2 separate regions of the Homo sapiens genome follow, and region 1 is linked to region 2. Evidence: promoter capture Hi-C in 16 types of primary human blood cells and fetal thymus (Javierre and others, 2016). All regions are on one chromosome and are shown on one strand. The core of a region is centred on a gene start or on the middle of the fragment in contact, and the rest is flanking DNA. Distances in the headings are between cores, read along the strand shown. Region 1 overlaps ACOX1 (acyl-CoA oxidase 1). Region 2 holds the start of CDK3 (cyclin dependent kinase 3).

Region 1 (6,798 bases), core at 3,643-6,142, 55 kb after region 2:
TCATTGGTTCTCGGGCTCTCAGCACCACAGATGTCCTGACAGATCTGTGCTTGTCCTCTCAGCTTCATGCCCTCACCGCTGGACTGAAGGCTTTCACCTCCTGGACTGCAAACACTGGCATTGAAGCATGTCGGATGGCTTGTGGTGGGCATGGCTATTCTCATTGCAGTGGTCTTCCAAATATTTATGTCAATTTCACCCCAAGCTGTACCTTTGAGGGAGAAAACACTGTCATGATGCTCCAGACGGCTAGGTGAGAGTCAAATCCTCGATTCCTCCCATCTGTTCATAAGAATGTTCTAGTCCTTTTCCTAGGTTCTTGTTCCCATGGTTTTTCTTCACCGTATATATATATTTGTTCCTGAAAGGTATACTTTTGCCTTCCATCCTGACTCACGGTTTTTATTTCGTGGTGAGGCTAGAGAGTATGAAGCACCTGTTACATAGCTTGCAGTTGTATCAAGGATAGAGTTACTGGGCTGGGCACAGTGGCTCATGACTGTAATCCCAGCACTTTGGGAAGCTGAGGTGGGCAGATCATGAGGTAAGGAGTTCAAGACCAGCTTGATCAACATGGTGAAACCGTGTCTCTACTAAAAAAATACAAAAAAATTAGCCGGGCATGATGGCACATTGCCTGTAATCCCGGCCTACTTGGGAGGCTGAGGCAGAAGAATCGCTTGAACCTGGGAAGCGGAGGTTGCAGTGAGCCAAGATTGCGCTATTGCACTCCATCCTGGGCAACAAGAGCGAAAACTCCATCAAAAAAAAAAAGGCCAGGTGTGGTGGCTTACTCCTGTAATCCCAGCACTTTGGGACGCCAAGCCGGGTAGATCACTTGAGGTCAGGAGTTAAGAGACCAGCCTGGCCAACATGGTAAAACCCTGTCTCTACTAAAAAAACAAAATATTAAAAATTAGCCAGGAATGGTGGCAGGTGCCTGTAGTCCCAGCTACTTGGGAGGCTGAGGCAGGAGAATCATTCATTTGAACCCAAGAGGAGGAGGTTGCAGTGAGCTGAGATCTGGCCATTGCACTCCATCCAGCCTAGGCAACAAGAATGAAACTCCATCTCAAAAGAAACAAAAGAAAGTAGAGTTACTAAAAGCATGTTTACTGGTGACTTTTAGGTTCCTGATGAAAAGTTATGATCAGGTGCACTCAGGAAAGTTGGTGTGTGGCATGGTGTCCTATTTGAACGACCTGCCCAGTCAGCGCATCCAGCCACAGCAGGTAGCAGTCTGGCCAACCATGGTGGATATCAACAGCCCCGAAAGCCTAACCGAAGCATATAAACTCCGTGCAGCCAGGTGAGCTCTCCCTCAAGAGCTAGAATACGCAGCAGTGGGGCTGGGGCCCTGACAGATGGCAAGAAGGCATGAGTACTGTTGATCATTTCCTCAGACCTCCAATCTATGTCTTAACAGATTAGTAGAAATTGCTGCAAAAAACCTTCAAAAAGAAGTGATTCACAGAAAAAGCAAGGAGGTAGCTTGGAACCTAACTTCTGTTGACCTTGTTCGAGCAAGTGAGGTCAGTGGTAGTTCTCTCTTTTTCCCCTTCCCTGCCCTCAGCATCCCGCATTTTCTGGTACAGAAACCCTAGTCACTGTATATTGAATCTTTTTCCAAGGTTCTCAAACTCTGGTGTTTTCTTTTTAATCTTAGGCACATTGCCACTATGTGGTAGTTAAGCTCTTTTCAGAAAAACTCCTCAAAATTCAAGATAAAGCCATTCAAGCTGTCTTAAGGAGTTTATGTCTGCTGTATTCTCTGTATGGAATCAGTCAGAACGCGGGGGATTTCCTTCAGGTCAGTATTTTCTAAGTATAAGTCTTTTTTGTTGTTGTTTTAAGAAAAATAATTGTTGGCTGGGCACGGTGGCTCATGCCTGTAATCCCAGCACTTTGGGAGCCCAAGGCGGGTACGGTGATCACTTGAGGTCAGGAGTTCAAGACCAGCCTGGCCTGGTGAAACCCTGTCTCTACTAAAAATACAAAAATTAGCCAGGTGCAGTGGCACATGCCTGTAATCCCAGCTACTAGGGAGGCTGAGGCACGAGAATCATTTGAACCCTGGAGGCAGAGGTTGCAGTGAGCCAAGATGAAACCACTGCATTCCAGCCTGGGTGACAGAGCAATACTCTGTCTCAAAAAAAAAAAAAAAGAAAAAGAAAAATAGCCAGGCACAGTGGCTCATGCCTGTAATCCCAACACTTTGGCCAAGGCGGGCAGATCACCTGAGGTCGGGAGTTCGAGACCAGCCTGACCAACATGGAGAAACCCCATCTCTACTAAAAATACAAAATTAGCCAGGTGTGCTGGCGCATGCCTGTAATTCCAGCTATTTGGGAGGCCAAGGGAGGAGAATTGCTTGAACCTGGGAGGCGGAGATTGCGGTGAGCCAAGATCACACCATTGTACTCCAGCCTGGGCAACAAGAGTGAAACTCAGTCTCAAAAAAAAAAAAAGAAAAAAATAATTGTCATCCGCTTTATAGCTGTATATGCATATAATTATGTCTATCTATATACATATATATGTTTTATTTACTTATTTTGGTCTCTTTTAGGGGAGCATCATGACAGAGCCTCAGATTACACAAGTAAACCAGCGTGTAAAGGAGTTACTCACTCTGATTCGCTCAGATGCTGTTGCTTTGGTTGATGCATTTGATTTTCAGGATGTGACACTTGGCTCTGTGCTTGGCCGCTATGATGGGAATGTGTATGAAAACTTGTTTGAGTGGGCTAAGAACTCCCCACTGAACAAAGCAGAGGTAAAAATCCAGTGTCTCTGCACCTTTTTAAAAGTCTTCACTTAAATATTGAAGCAGGAAAGGCCTCTCGAAGGGGATTTATCTGTGAAAGCTCTGAAAGTACCATGGCCACTTCTGACAGTCACTTTATTTGAGCAACAGGTTCAGAAGGGAACTGGGTTGTTCCCACAGTAACCAGGGTCTTAATCAATTTCAATTTTTGATAACGAATTGAACATTTAAAAATATATACAGGCCGGGTGCGTTGGCTCACACCTGTAATCCCAGCACTGTGGGAGGCCGAGTGGGCAGATCACCTGAGGTCAGGAGTTCGAGACTAGCCTGGCTAAAATGGCGAAACCCAATCTCTACTAAAAATACAAAAAAAGCAGCCAGGCAGTAATGGTGCACGGCTGTAGTCCCAGCTACTCGGGAATTCTCCTGCCTCAGCTTGAACCCAGGAGAACCCAGGAGGCGGAGGTTGCAGTGAGCCACGTTCGTGCCATTGCACTCCAGCCTGGGTGACAAGAGCAAAACTCTGTCTCAAAAAAAAAAAAAAAGTATACACACACACACACACACACAAATAGAATAAAATATACAAAAAGAGAATTCCGTAGTGCTCTTTGGTACACCCTTTGTCTAGCAGCAATGACTATCAACTCGTGGCTAGTTGTGTTTCATCTGAACCTTCATCCCCCTCCTCCTGGGGACTATTTTGAAATAAATCTAAGACATCAGGGCCAGGCTCAGTGATGCACACCTGGGAGGCCGAGGCAGGTGGATCACCTGAGGTCGGGAGTTTGAGACCAGCCTGACCAACATGGAGAAACCTTGTTTCTACTAAAAATACAAAATTAGCCAGGCGTGGTGGCGCATGCCTGTAATCCCAGCTACTTGGGAGGCTGAGACAGGAGAATTGCTTGAGCCTGGGAGGCGGAGGTTGCGGTGAGCCGAGACCATGCCATTGCACTCCAGCCTGGGCAACAAGAGCGAGGCTCCGTTTCAAAAAAAAAAAAAAAACTAAGACATCAGATAATTTTATCCATAAATAATTCAATGCATAGCTCTAAAAGATAAGGACTCTTCAGAAACAACCACAGGCTGGGCACAGTGGCTCACGCCTGTAATCCTAGCACTTTGGGAGGCTGAGGTGGGTGGATCACTTGAATTGAGGAGTTCTAGACCAGCCTGGCCAACATGGTAAACCCCCATCTCTACAAAAAAATACAAATAGCAGCCAGGTGTCATGGCACACACCTGTAGTTCTAGCAACTCGGGAGGCTAAGGTGGGAAGATCGCTGGAGTCTGGGAGGCAGAGGCTGTAGTGAGCCAAGATTGTGCCACTGCACTCCAGCCTGAGCAACAGAGCAGGACTCAGTCTCAAAAAAAAAACAAAAACAAAAACAAAAAACAGTATACTATTTAACATGGCAAACTCTTTATTAGTAGTTCTTCTCTCTCCTTTCCCCACAGGTCCACGAATCTTACAAGCACCTGAAGTCACTGCAGTCCAAGCTCTGAAGTGTCACAAGGACAAGTTTAATCTGCTTCAGAAAGCGCCTGTGTGCAACTCAAATTTTGTGGAATCTTTTTCGAATTCAAATAGCTATAGAGCAAATGATAAATTGACCCCTTTTTATAAATGGAGGGAAAAAATGAACAGATTTCAGAGATTAAATGAAAAAAAGCAGATGTTTTAAGTGCAATTAACACTGAAAGAGACCTGTTAAACCATTCAGAAAAAGCTTAAGAAATGCGATATGACTTCCTTTTGTAATGCTGCTGATCCCAGTAGACTATGACTTTTGATAATTAGCAGAATTTAACTACTGAGTAGTTGATTATTTTCACATTTTAATTGCTAATCACTGGCTATATAAGTGTTTTTAAGCAAAGGTATTTTTGAAGTGGTGTAGAACCCTTCCAAGCTTTCCTGCTCAGTGTTCTACCAGACTTACCCTGGGGCCTGGCTTAAAAGCAGGATTGAAGAAAAGGGACTGGGGGAAGGAAACTTATTGGAAAACTTGATGCGAATGAGTTTCTGCTTGGCACAGTCTCTGCCTGCTTGCTCTCCTTTGCTGATGGATTGCATTTATCAAACTATTCATGCTAGCATTTTTCCAACGAGGGAACTTATTCCGCACGGGCCTACTGTAGGACCATTGTCTCGTGTAATTAGGAATTTTCCATTTGAAGGATTGCTAAATTGTCACAGTAGTAGGAAGTATAGGGAAACCTCTCAGCTGTGGCACTGTTGTAGCTTTGGAGTGCAGAGTGTAACTCTGGGACAATCAGATTTCACATATTCTGTCATCTTGGCATAAGCCATTAAAAGCTTGGAGATTACTGTATTTGGCATTAAAAAAAAATGTCACTTAGGTCAGCACTCCCAGACGTAGCACAGAAAAACCCTTTGACACAAACCATGTGTTCTGATTTTTGGTTCAGAAAATATTGAAACTGTGAGTTGTTTTTTTTTTAACAACTGGGAAAAAACAAAAACAAAAAACTATAGTTAGAAAAATGGAAGTTCCATAGGTTCTATTTCTTACTCTATGTATGGCTTTGTTTTCAGTCTATTTCTAGGAGCTTTCTCTGAATCGCTAATTGTCCTTTCAGTTGAAATCTAATTTATACAATCATTCTATACTTAAAGGTTAAATACATCTTAATTAATTTTTTCTTAAAGTCAATGTAAGTCACTTTGTTTTGTTTTTTTTTAATCTACGCCATATGCCTCATGAAACCAGCTGTTCTAGAATCAGTCCTGAGAATATGGCTTAATTCCATGGAAACATAACTCCTATCTTGGGACCTGACATAATATCTATCTATCCTGGGGAACTGGTAATATGAGACTTATAGGTTACAGCAGAAATGCTACATGTTGACAAAAGCCTTAATCGTTCCACTGGGAGAACTAATTGATAATTGTGTTAAGATTGAAGATTAACCCTGTGTTAATCTCACTTGAGTCTATCCTGACAGTAGTTCAGATTCTGGAAAATGATAAACTGACCTGCTAGATGTAGAATTGTTTCAAAATTAGTGTTGAAATACCTTGTTCACAGATGAATATCTGGGCAGGATCTGAGGGTGTTTGGAATGACACCCCCCAATCCAGTTGCATAGATGGGATGTCTTTGCAGGTTTGAGGAGATCATCGACCTGCAGAGCCCCCTTTGACCCAGTACCTCACGTTTTATTTAAAATCTAAATCTGGGGCCAGGCGTGGTGGCTCACGCCTGTAATCCAAGCACTTTGGGAGGCCGAAGCGGGTGGATCACCTGAGGTCAGGAGTTTGAGACCATCCTGGCCAACATGGTGAAACCCCGTCTCTACTGAAAAAAATACAAAAATTAGCTGGGCATGGTGGTAGCACGCGCCTGTAGTCCCAGCTACTCGGGAGGCTGAGGCAGGATAATCGCTTGAACTTGGCGGGTAGAGGTTGCAGTGAGCCAAGATGGTGCCACTACACTGCAGCCTGGGTGGCTGAGCGAGACTCCGTCTCAAAAAAAAAATCTAAATCTGACATTTGATGCTATTTTTATTAATATTGGAATGTTCTGTCTTGAACTTTATTCAATATAATCAAGAATAAAGATAGAGTAAACGTCACTGATTTGTACTATTAAGAGAGAAAAAATATGCCACACAACTAAACATAGGTTTAAATTATGAAGAAATTTAGAATAGAGGTTTATTAGATTTAGGGAACACTAAGAACAAAAAAGGAAGGAGTGATACCTGCCTGAGTGGACAGCTGTAAATCAGCTGTAATTACTGCAGTTGTACCAATAGTTGTGAGTGGCTCCAGTCACTTTAGGAGTCCTTGGAAGTACTTGGTACACATTTGTTGGCTGTACCTTAAAGGAAGTGGCAAGTCCAGTTTGTTCTCTCTACCACACTAGACTGCCACTGACAAGTTTGGGTCTGTTGGATTCAAAATTTTGTAAGCCATTTTCACAAGTACAAAGATACATTTTAACCTTGTCTTCTCCAAAATTACTGAGTAGGAATTTTATTTTTATCTTTTTGAG
Region 2 (6,720 bases), core at 1,749-4,248:
GAGAATGACTTGAACCCAGGAGGCAGAAGTTGCAGTGAGCTGAGATCACGCCATTGCACTCCAGCCCGGGCAACAAGAGCAAAACTCCATCTCAAAAAAAAGAAAAGAAAAGAAGGTATGGCCCCAGCCTGGGGAGGCATACAGCTTAGATGGAGCAGTAATGTCCACAAAGTAGAATAACCAAACACACAAGACAACTAGGGAAAAAGGGCGTGTAGCACAGCATAAAGACAGAGCTAACTCAATGAGCGCCACTTTCACAGGGAAGATAAATACTGCACTTATCCTGGGGGAGGCTTCCGGGTTGAACAATCAGTATACCCAAGCCAGTTGTGTACAAAGGTCAGGAAAGAGACCCTGGCCTTGGACTCAGAAAGTGCCAGGGTTATGTAAGAGGCTGGCTGATGAGGGGAAACTGTAGTCGGAGCAGCAGCTGGAGCCCACATGCACCTACCATGAGCAGGTCCCTGCCCTCTGGCTCCAGATTGGGCACAATCTCTTCCAGTCCCTTCCTGGTCCACTTAGGGAAGCTGCCCTTATAGTCAGGCAGCTGGGTGACCCCGGGCCATGTGTCTTCGCTGGGTGTCCCCAGCATACGAAAGATACGAAAGAGCTGGTCAATCTCAGAGTCACCAGGAAACAGGGCTTTTCGAGTCACCTGAAATGGGGAAGAAGAGAAGGTGTGGGGTCCGCCACTTTGTTATACAGAATCCAATACCAGATAAGTGGCCAGACCCAGGGAGAGGCCTGTCAAGATATCTTTTCCATGACTGTGCAAAGAATTCTGGCCTCTTTTGGAATAAAGCTACCTTCCTCAGTCCTTTAGCCAGTACCAAACACCTTTTTTTAAAAAATAGAGACGGAGTCTTGCTCTGTCACCCAGGCTAGAGTGCAGTCGTGCGATCACAGCTCACTGCAGCCTCAACCACAGGCTCAAGCAATCCTCCTGCCTCAACCTCCCAAGTAGCTGGGACTACAAGCATGCACCACCACACCCAGCTAATTTTTGTAGTTTTTTAAGAGCTGGGGATTTGTTACGTTGCCCAGGCTGGTCTCAAACTCCTGGGCTCAAGCCATCCTCCCATCTCAGCCTCCCAAAGTGCTGGGATTACGGGCGTGAGCCATGTCCAGCCCCAAACACTCTTTAATCCGCCTCGAATGGGAGCATCAGTGGACCCCACCCAACCCCAGTAGGACCCTGCCTGTGGCACCCTGTGGCCATGTGTGCCCCTCTCTCTACCATCTCTGCAAAGATGCAACCAATGCTCCAGATATCCACAGCTGTGGTATAGAACTTGCTGCCCAAGAGAATCTCGGGGGCGCGATACCACAGTGTCACCACCTGCAGGGCAAAGAAACAGTATCACTCAGGGTGGCTGAGTGCATGGGTGACACTCCTCCTGCTGCCCCTCTCTCCTCTTTGTCTCACAATACCTCATGGGTGTAGGTGCGCAGGGGCACCCCGAAGGCGCGAGCCAGGCCGAAGTCAGCCAGCTTGATGGCACCCAACTCATTGATGAGCAGGTTCTGGGGCTTCAGGTCTCGGTGGATGACCCGATGTGAGTGGCAGAAACTCACCCCCTGCAGCAGCTGGAAGAGGTAGCTCTGGAGAAACGAGCGCGAGGTGCAGCCAGCTGAGCGGAGGTGCTGCGTGGACAGGGATGGCAGGGATGGGGTGTCACCTCTCCTTCCCTGCCCTTCCTTCCCTACCTTGATGAGGTGCAGGGGGAGCTCTGAGCCTGGGGTGGAGTCCATGTACTTCTTCAGGTCCTGGCTGAGGAACTCAAACACCAGATAGAGCTTCCTCTCGTTGTGCACCACGTCCAGCAGTCTGACAGGGAGATGGCAGTCAGGATGCTACCTTCGCCATCCCAGCTTCCCCACCTCAATCCCCAACTCACCGGACGATGTTGGGGTGCTTCAGTTCCTTGAGCAGCGAGATCTCCCTGATGGCAGTGCTTGGGACCCCCTCCATCTCCCTGCAAGAAACAAGGGCACAGCCGTGGGCAGAGACTTGGGCCAAGAAGGGCACTTCCAGCCAGGGGGATCGGCTTCTCCTTAACCCCACAGAATGACCAGGGCCCCGGCAATGGAGACCTGTGCTCCTTGGCACGTCATCCACCAAACTCCACAGTCAGGGCCCCGGCAAAGGCTGGTCAGAAGGCAGTGAACTGGGGAGAGGACAGGTAAGGGCTGCTGGGCAGCACCCAGAGGAGTTAAACGTGGACTCCAGGAAAGAGGGAACGGATCAGGGAGCGCCCAGGTTGTGATGGCCCAGGGTGGGTAACTCAGGGGCCGTCCCAGCACTCACAAATCCAGTCTGATCTTCTTCAGGGCCACCAGCTGCCCTGTCTCCCTGTTCTTGGCCTTGTACACCACCCCATAGGTGCCCTCTCCGATCTTCTCTACCTTCTGGAACATATCCATGGCCACAGAGCTGCCTGGGAAACAGAAGGCACCGGGCAATTTGCACCCCACGCCCAGCGCTCCCGTTGCTCCTCCAGCTTCCATGTGGCGCCCTGCCCAGCCCAGCCCAGCCCAGACTGCCCAGCTCCCAAGGCCCACGGCCTAGCCACCCCAACCCCAGCTCATCCTGCCTGGGAACCTGGCTGGGGGTCGGAAACCGCCCCTCACCCAGCCCAGCCCGGACCCCAAGGGGGTCAGGGGGCCCCCTTCACCCAGCCCAGTTCAGCCAGGACCCCCAGGCTTCTCGCCCATGCCCGGCCTCGGAGGGCAGGGCCCACACTCTCCCACCCAGCCCCCTGCCCATCCCAGCCAGAACCCCCAGGAAGTCAGAGACCACCCCTCGCCCAGCCCAGCCCAACATGGACCCCCAGGCCTCTCACTTGTGCCGGGCCTTAGAGGGCAAGACCACCCTTTCCCACCTGGGTCACTGCCCAGCCCAGCCAGTCCCAGGCTCTGGGTACACATGGCGGCCAGGAAGGGCTGCCCAGGGGCCAGGGCCACTGGGGGCAGAGGTCAGGGGTCAGGAGGGTCTTAAAGCCACAGTCCTGTCTTAGGCTGCACGGTCAGGGCCCAGGGCCTCAGCCCGGCCCGTGTGACGACGCTCAGCCTCCTCTGAAGGCAGAGCCTGGCCAGGGGCAGACCCCTGCATCCTGGGCCCCCCACCCCAGCCCCTGGGCCCCTGGTGCCCTACCCTGAGGCCCCAGGCCCAGAATTCACCAGAAGCCCTGAGAGGCTGCAGCCCACAGCCTGGGTTGCAGCTCCCCCTCCTGGCCCCCGCCGGCGCTGCACCACGAGCACACTTCAAGAGCACGCCCCCTGGGCCTTTATTCACCAGGACCTTCTGGAACCCTCCATGGCCCCACACCAAGCACGGCCCCGGCGCCCAAGCTCGGCCACCTGCAGTCTCCTGGGGTGGGGCTGTCGGATTTATGGCATGCTTTCTGGGTTCTCATTGCTGAGCCAATCCCAAAGTAGGGGAAGGGGCTGGATTCATCACCCGCCCCTCGGCTTTCGAGCTCCAGACAAGGCCGTCGCTGGGGAGGCGTCTGTGCTCTCCCGGGCTCCTGCAGCTCCAGAGGGTTCGGGCTCTGAAGCAGGTGAGGGTGTTGCTAGGCTGCTGTTTCCTACTGGCTGCCGCCCCGCTCCTGCTTGTACAGTCTCTGCTCCCGGATGGCTTGTTCCAACAAGGGCAGGTTCATCCCCTCCACACAGGTCAGCACGCGCGCCTTCACCACGGAGCCTCTGTCTGCAAGACAAACACCAGGGCACGAACGGCGACTGAGCGGCGTGTCAACAACGTCCTCCAAGGTGCATTCCAGCTGTTCCCTCCACAGCTCAGTCCTGGGTTTTGGCAGCAAGTGATGTGGACAATAACAGCATATGGGGCAAAGGCAACTGAGTATTTGGGCCTAGAACCGTGGGCCTGTCATGCACAGTCGGCCCGTGTCTGGAACTTAGCAGGTGGTCAGAAAACCCCTCTGGACTGAGGGAAAGGCCCCCTTGGCACCTTGGGACACAATGTCATCAGGAACCGGGGAAAAGAGACACCCATATTTTAAAAATCCAAGAGACTGAGCTCCCGGTAAGTTTGGCTTTATAGGAGCAGGTCATCCCACCCTGGACGAGGGGGGCTTCTAGCAGATGCGGTGGTGACCTGATACATAATGGAAAGGTTTGCCACTATTCAGGTGGCACCAAACAGGAAAGACATCTCCGAGAGACTTTTTAAAAATTTTCTTTCTTTTGACAGGTGAACTGGCTCACACCTGTAATCTCAGCACTTTGGGAGGCCAAGGCATGTGGAACACTTGAGGTCAGGAGTTCAAGACCAGCCTGGCCAACATGATGAAACCCCATCTCTACTAAAAATACAAAAATTAGCCGCGTGTAGTGGTGCATGCCTGTAATCCCAGCTACTTGGAAGGCTGAGGCAGGAGAATTGCTTGAACCCAGGAGGTGGAGGTTGCAGTGAGCCAAGATCACGCCACTGCACTCCAGCCTGGGCAACAGAGCAAGACTCCACCTAAAAAAAAAAATTTTTTTTTTGAGACAGGGTGTTGCTCTGTCACTTGGGCTGGAATGCAGTGGCTCAATCATGGCTCAATGTAGCCTCCACCTCCCAGGCTCAGGTGATCATCTCAGCTTCCTGAGGAGCTGGGACTACAGGGACGCACCACCACACCCAGCTAATTTTTGTATTTCTTGTAGAGATGGGGTCTCGCCATGTTGCCCAGGCTGGTTTCAAACTCCTGGGGTCAAGTGATCTGCCCGCCTCGGCCTCCCAACATGCATGGATTATAGGCGTGAGCCACTGTGCATTGCTGACATTTTTTTTTTCTTTCTTTTTTCCCCAGTCATAGCTTGCAAGAGAAAAAAAAAAGTTAAAAAAATTTTTTGCACTCATGCTCTTTCTGCTCTCTGAGCACTTTAATAAATAGATTTCCGAGATGGGTGGATCACCTGAGGTCAGGAGTTCATGACCAGCTTGGCCAACACGGCAAAACCCCGTCTCTACTAAAAATACAAAAATTAGCCAGGTGTGGTAGCTGGCACCTGTAAACCCAGCTACTCGGGAGGCTGAGGCAGGAGAATCGCTTGAACCTGGGAGGCAGACGTTGCAGTGAGCCGAGATCAAGCCACTGCACTCCAGCCTGGGCAACAGAGTGAGACTCTGTCTCAAAATAAGTAAATAAATAGATTCAATGTTCTAGGCTATTACATTGTTTTCTTTTGACGCTGTTTGAGATAAAGGCTCTGCCTGCCCTTTCCTCTAGTCTAGGTCATTTATAGCACAGCCTGAGGGCAGAATTCAGGGTGTCATCCTGCCTAGCTGTCTATACAGGCTACCCTTAGGCAATGAACTCATTTGAAACATGAGGTTGCCTGTGTGTCTCAGCTTCTGTTAGCCCCAGTGCTGACACAGGTCAGAGAGGAATCGGGGCGTGGCGCGGTGGCTCCCAACACTGTAATCCCAACACTTTGGGAGGGCAAGACAAGCAGATCACTTGAGGCCAGGAGCTCAAGACCAGCCTGGCCAACAAGCGAAAACCCTGTCTCTACTAAAAATACAAAAGTTACCCAGGCCCGACTACTTGGGAGGCTGAGGCACGAGAATCACTTGAACCGGGGAGGTGGATGTCGCAGTGAGCCAAGATTGCGCCACTGCACTCCAGCCTGGGAAACAGAATGAGACTCTGTCTCAAAAAAAAAAAAAAAAGGAAAAAAAAAGGAAAAAGGCCAGGCGCAGTGGCTCACATCTGTAATCCCAGCACTCTGGGAGGCTGACGCAGGCGGATCACCTGAGGTCAGGAGCTGAAGACCAGCCTGGCCAACATGGTGAAACCCTGTCTCTACTAAAAAGACAAAAATTAGCTGGGTGTGGTGGCGGGCACCTGTAATCCCAGCTACTAGGGAGGCTGAGGCAGAATCGCTTGAACCCAGGAAGCAGAGGTTGCAGTAAGCAGAGATCGTGCCACTGCACTCCCAGCCTGGGTGACAGAGCGAGACTCCATCTCAGGAAAAAAAAAAAAAGATTAAGAACCTGGAGCAAAGAAGAAGGGCCTGGGTTATAAAAAGCAGTCAGAATGCAGTGGGGTGAGGCCTGGGAAGAGGAAGGGGTTATACGGAGCACAGATGTTCTTTTAGGAGGTTTGTCTGCAAAGGGAGGGAAGGTCATGGGCAGGTAGGTCAGACTCTAGTGTAGAAGATGACTTCTTGTCATTGAGACTATTATTTCCATATAGAGGAGGCTTGAACACCTTATATGTGGACAGGGAAGAACTGTGGTAACCCCTTAGGTAGGAGGGACCCCGCTTCCTCTTAGACTAGAGGAAGGAGCTAACGGTGGCCGTTTCAGTGTCTGATGGTCGGTGGCCGTTTCAGTGTCTGATGGTAGGAGGAAGAACGGCTGCCTGTGGCCTCGATTCTAGCTGGCTCATAAAGCAATAAGCCGGGAGGGACAGGGGAGGAGAGGAAGTGGGTTCTTGTGAGGCAGGGGAATTTCTGGACTAGCTGTGGTGGCGCCGGGGAGGGGGGTGTGGCCAGGACACAGGAAGGATTTCTAGGCAGAGCAGGGGAATGCCAGTGAGCCCCTGAAATCATTGAGCTCCAAATCCTTGGAGTTCTGTGATCTTTCTGCACTCAACAGTTGGCAGAACCAGGAGGGTGGAGGCTGGGGTCTTGGGGCAGGAGTGAAGCTGCCAGGAAAGTGGCTGAAATGGTAGTGAGGCCCAACGGGGAAGAGAGATGGGGGAG

What was found. Contacts are between HindIII fragments. The CHiCAGO score rates a contact against its expected background, and 5 or more counts as called.
Region 1: a fragment that was not itself captured here is called in contact with the fragment with the promoter of CDK3 in region 2 in 1 of 17 cell types (endothelial precursors); the score reaches 6.1 in endothelial precursors.

The regions. Positions count from the first base shown.
Region 1 is chr17:75,944,229-75,951,026 of GRCh38, reverse strand. ACOX1 (acyl-CoA oxidase 1) reads left to right here. Exons shown (of 14, transcript NM_004035.7): 9 at 63-253; 10 at 1,130-1,309; 11 at 1,427-1,532; 12 at 1,667-1,810; 13 at 2,570-2,776; 14 at 4,232-6,798. The coding sequence ends at 4,279. Among named protein-coding and RNA genes, the nearest start is that of FBF1, 6.6 kb to the right of the region's middle. The HindIII fragment of the contact is 407 bases long and covers 4,689-5,095 here.
Region 2 is chr17:75,997,133-76,003,852 of GRCh38, reverse strand. It overlaps CDK3 (cyclin dependent kinase 3), which reads right to left and starts at 2,998. Exons shown (of 8, transcript NM_001258.4): 1 at 2,886-2,998; 2 at 2,312-2,441; 3 at 1,902-1,979; 4 at 1,711-1,831; 5 at 1,435-1,605; 6 at 1,241-1,342; 7 at 455-658. The coding sequence starts at 2,427. TEN1 (TEN1 subunit of CST complex) reads right to left here. Exons shown (of 4, transcript NM_001113324.3): 4 at 3,267-3,712. The coding sequence ends at 3,591. TEN1-CDK3 (TEN1-CDK3 readthrough (NMD candidate)) reads right to left here. Exons shown (of 10, transcript NR_037709.1): 4 at 2,312-3,712; 5 at 1,902-1,979; 6 at 1,711-1,831; 7 at 1,435-1,605; 8 at 1,241-1,342; 9 at 455-658. LOC124904061 (a long non-coding RNA gene) reads left to right here and starts at 3,293. Exons shown (of 2, transcript XR_007065911.1): 1 at 3,293-4,048; 2 at 4,217-5,181. RefSeq lists silencers at 559-759, 3,112-3,191 and enhancers at 3,322-3,371, 6,257-6,306, 6,477-6,556. The HindIII fragment of the contact is 39,600 bases long and covers 1-6,720 here.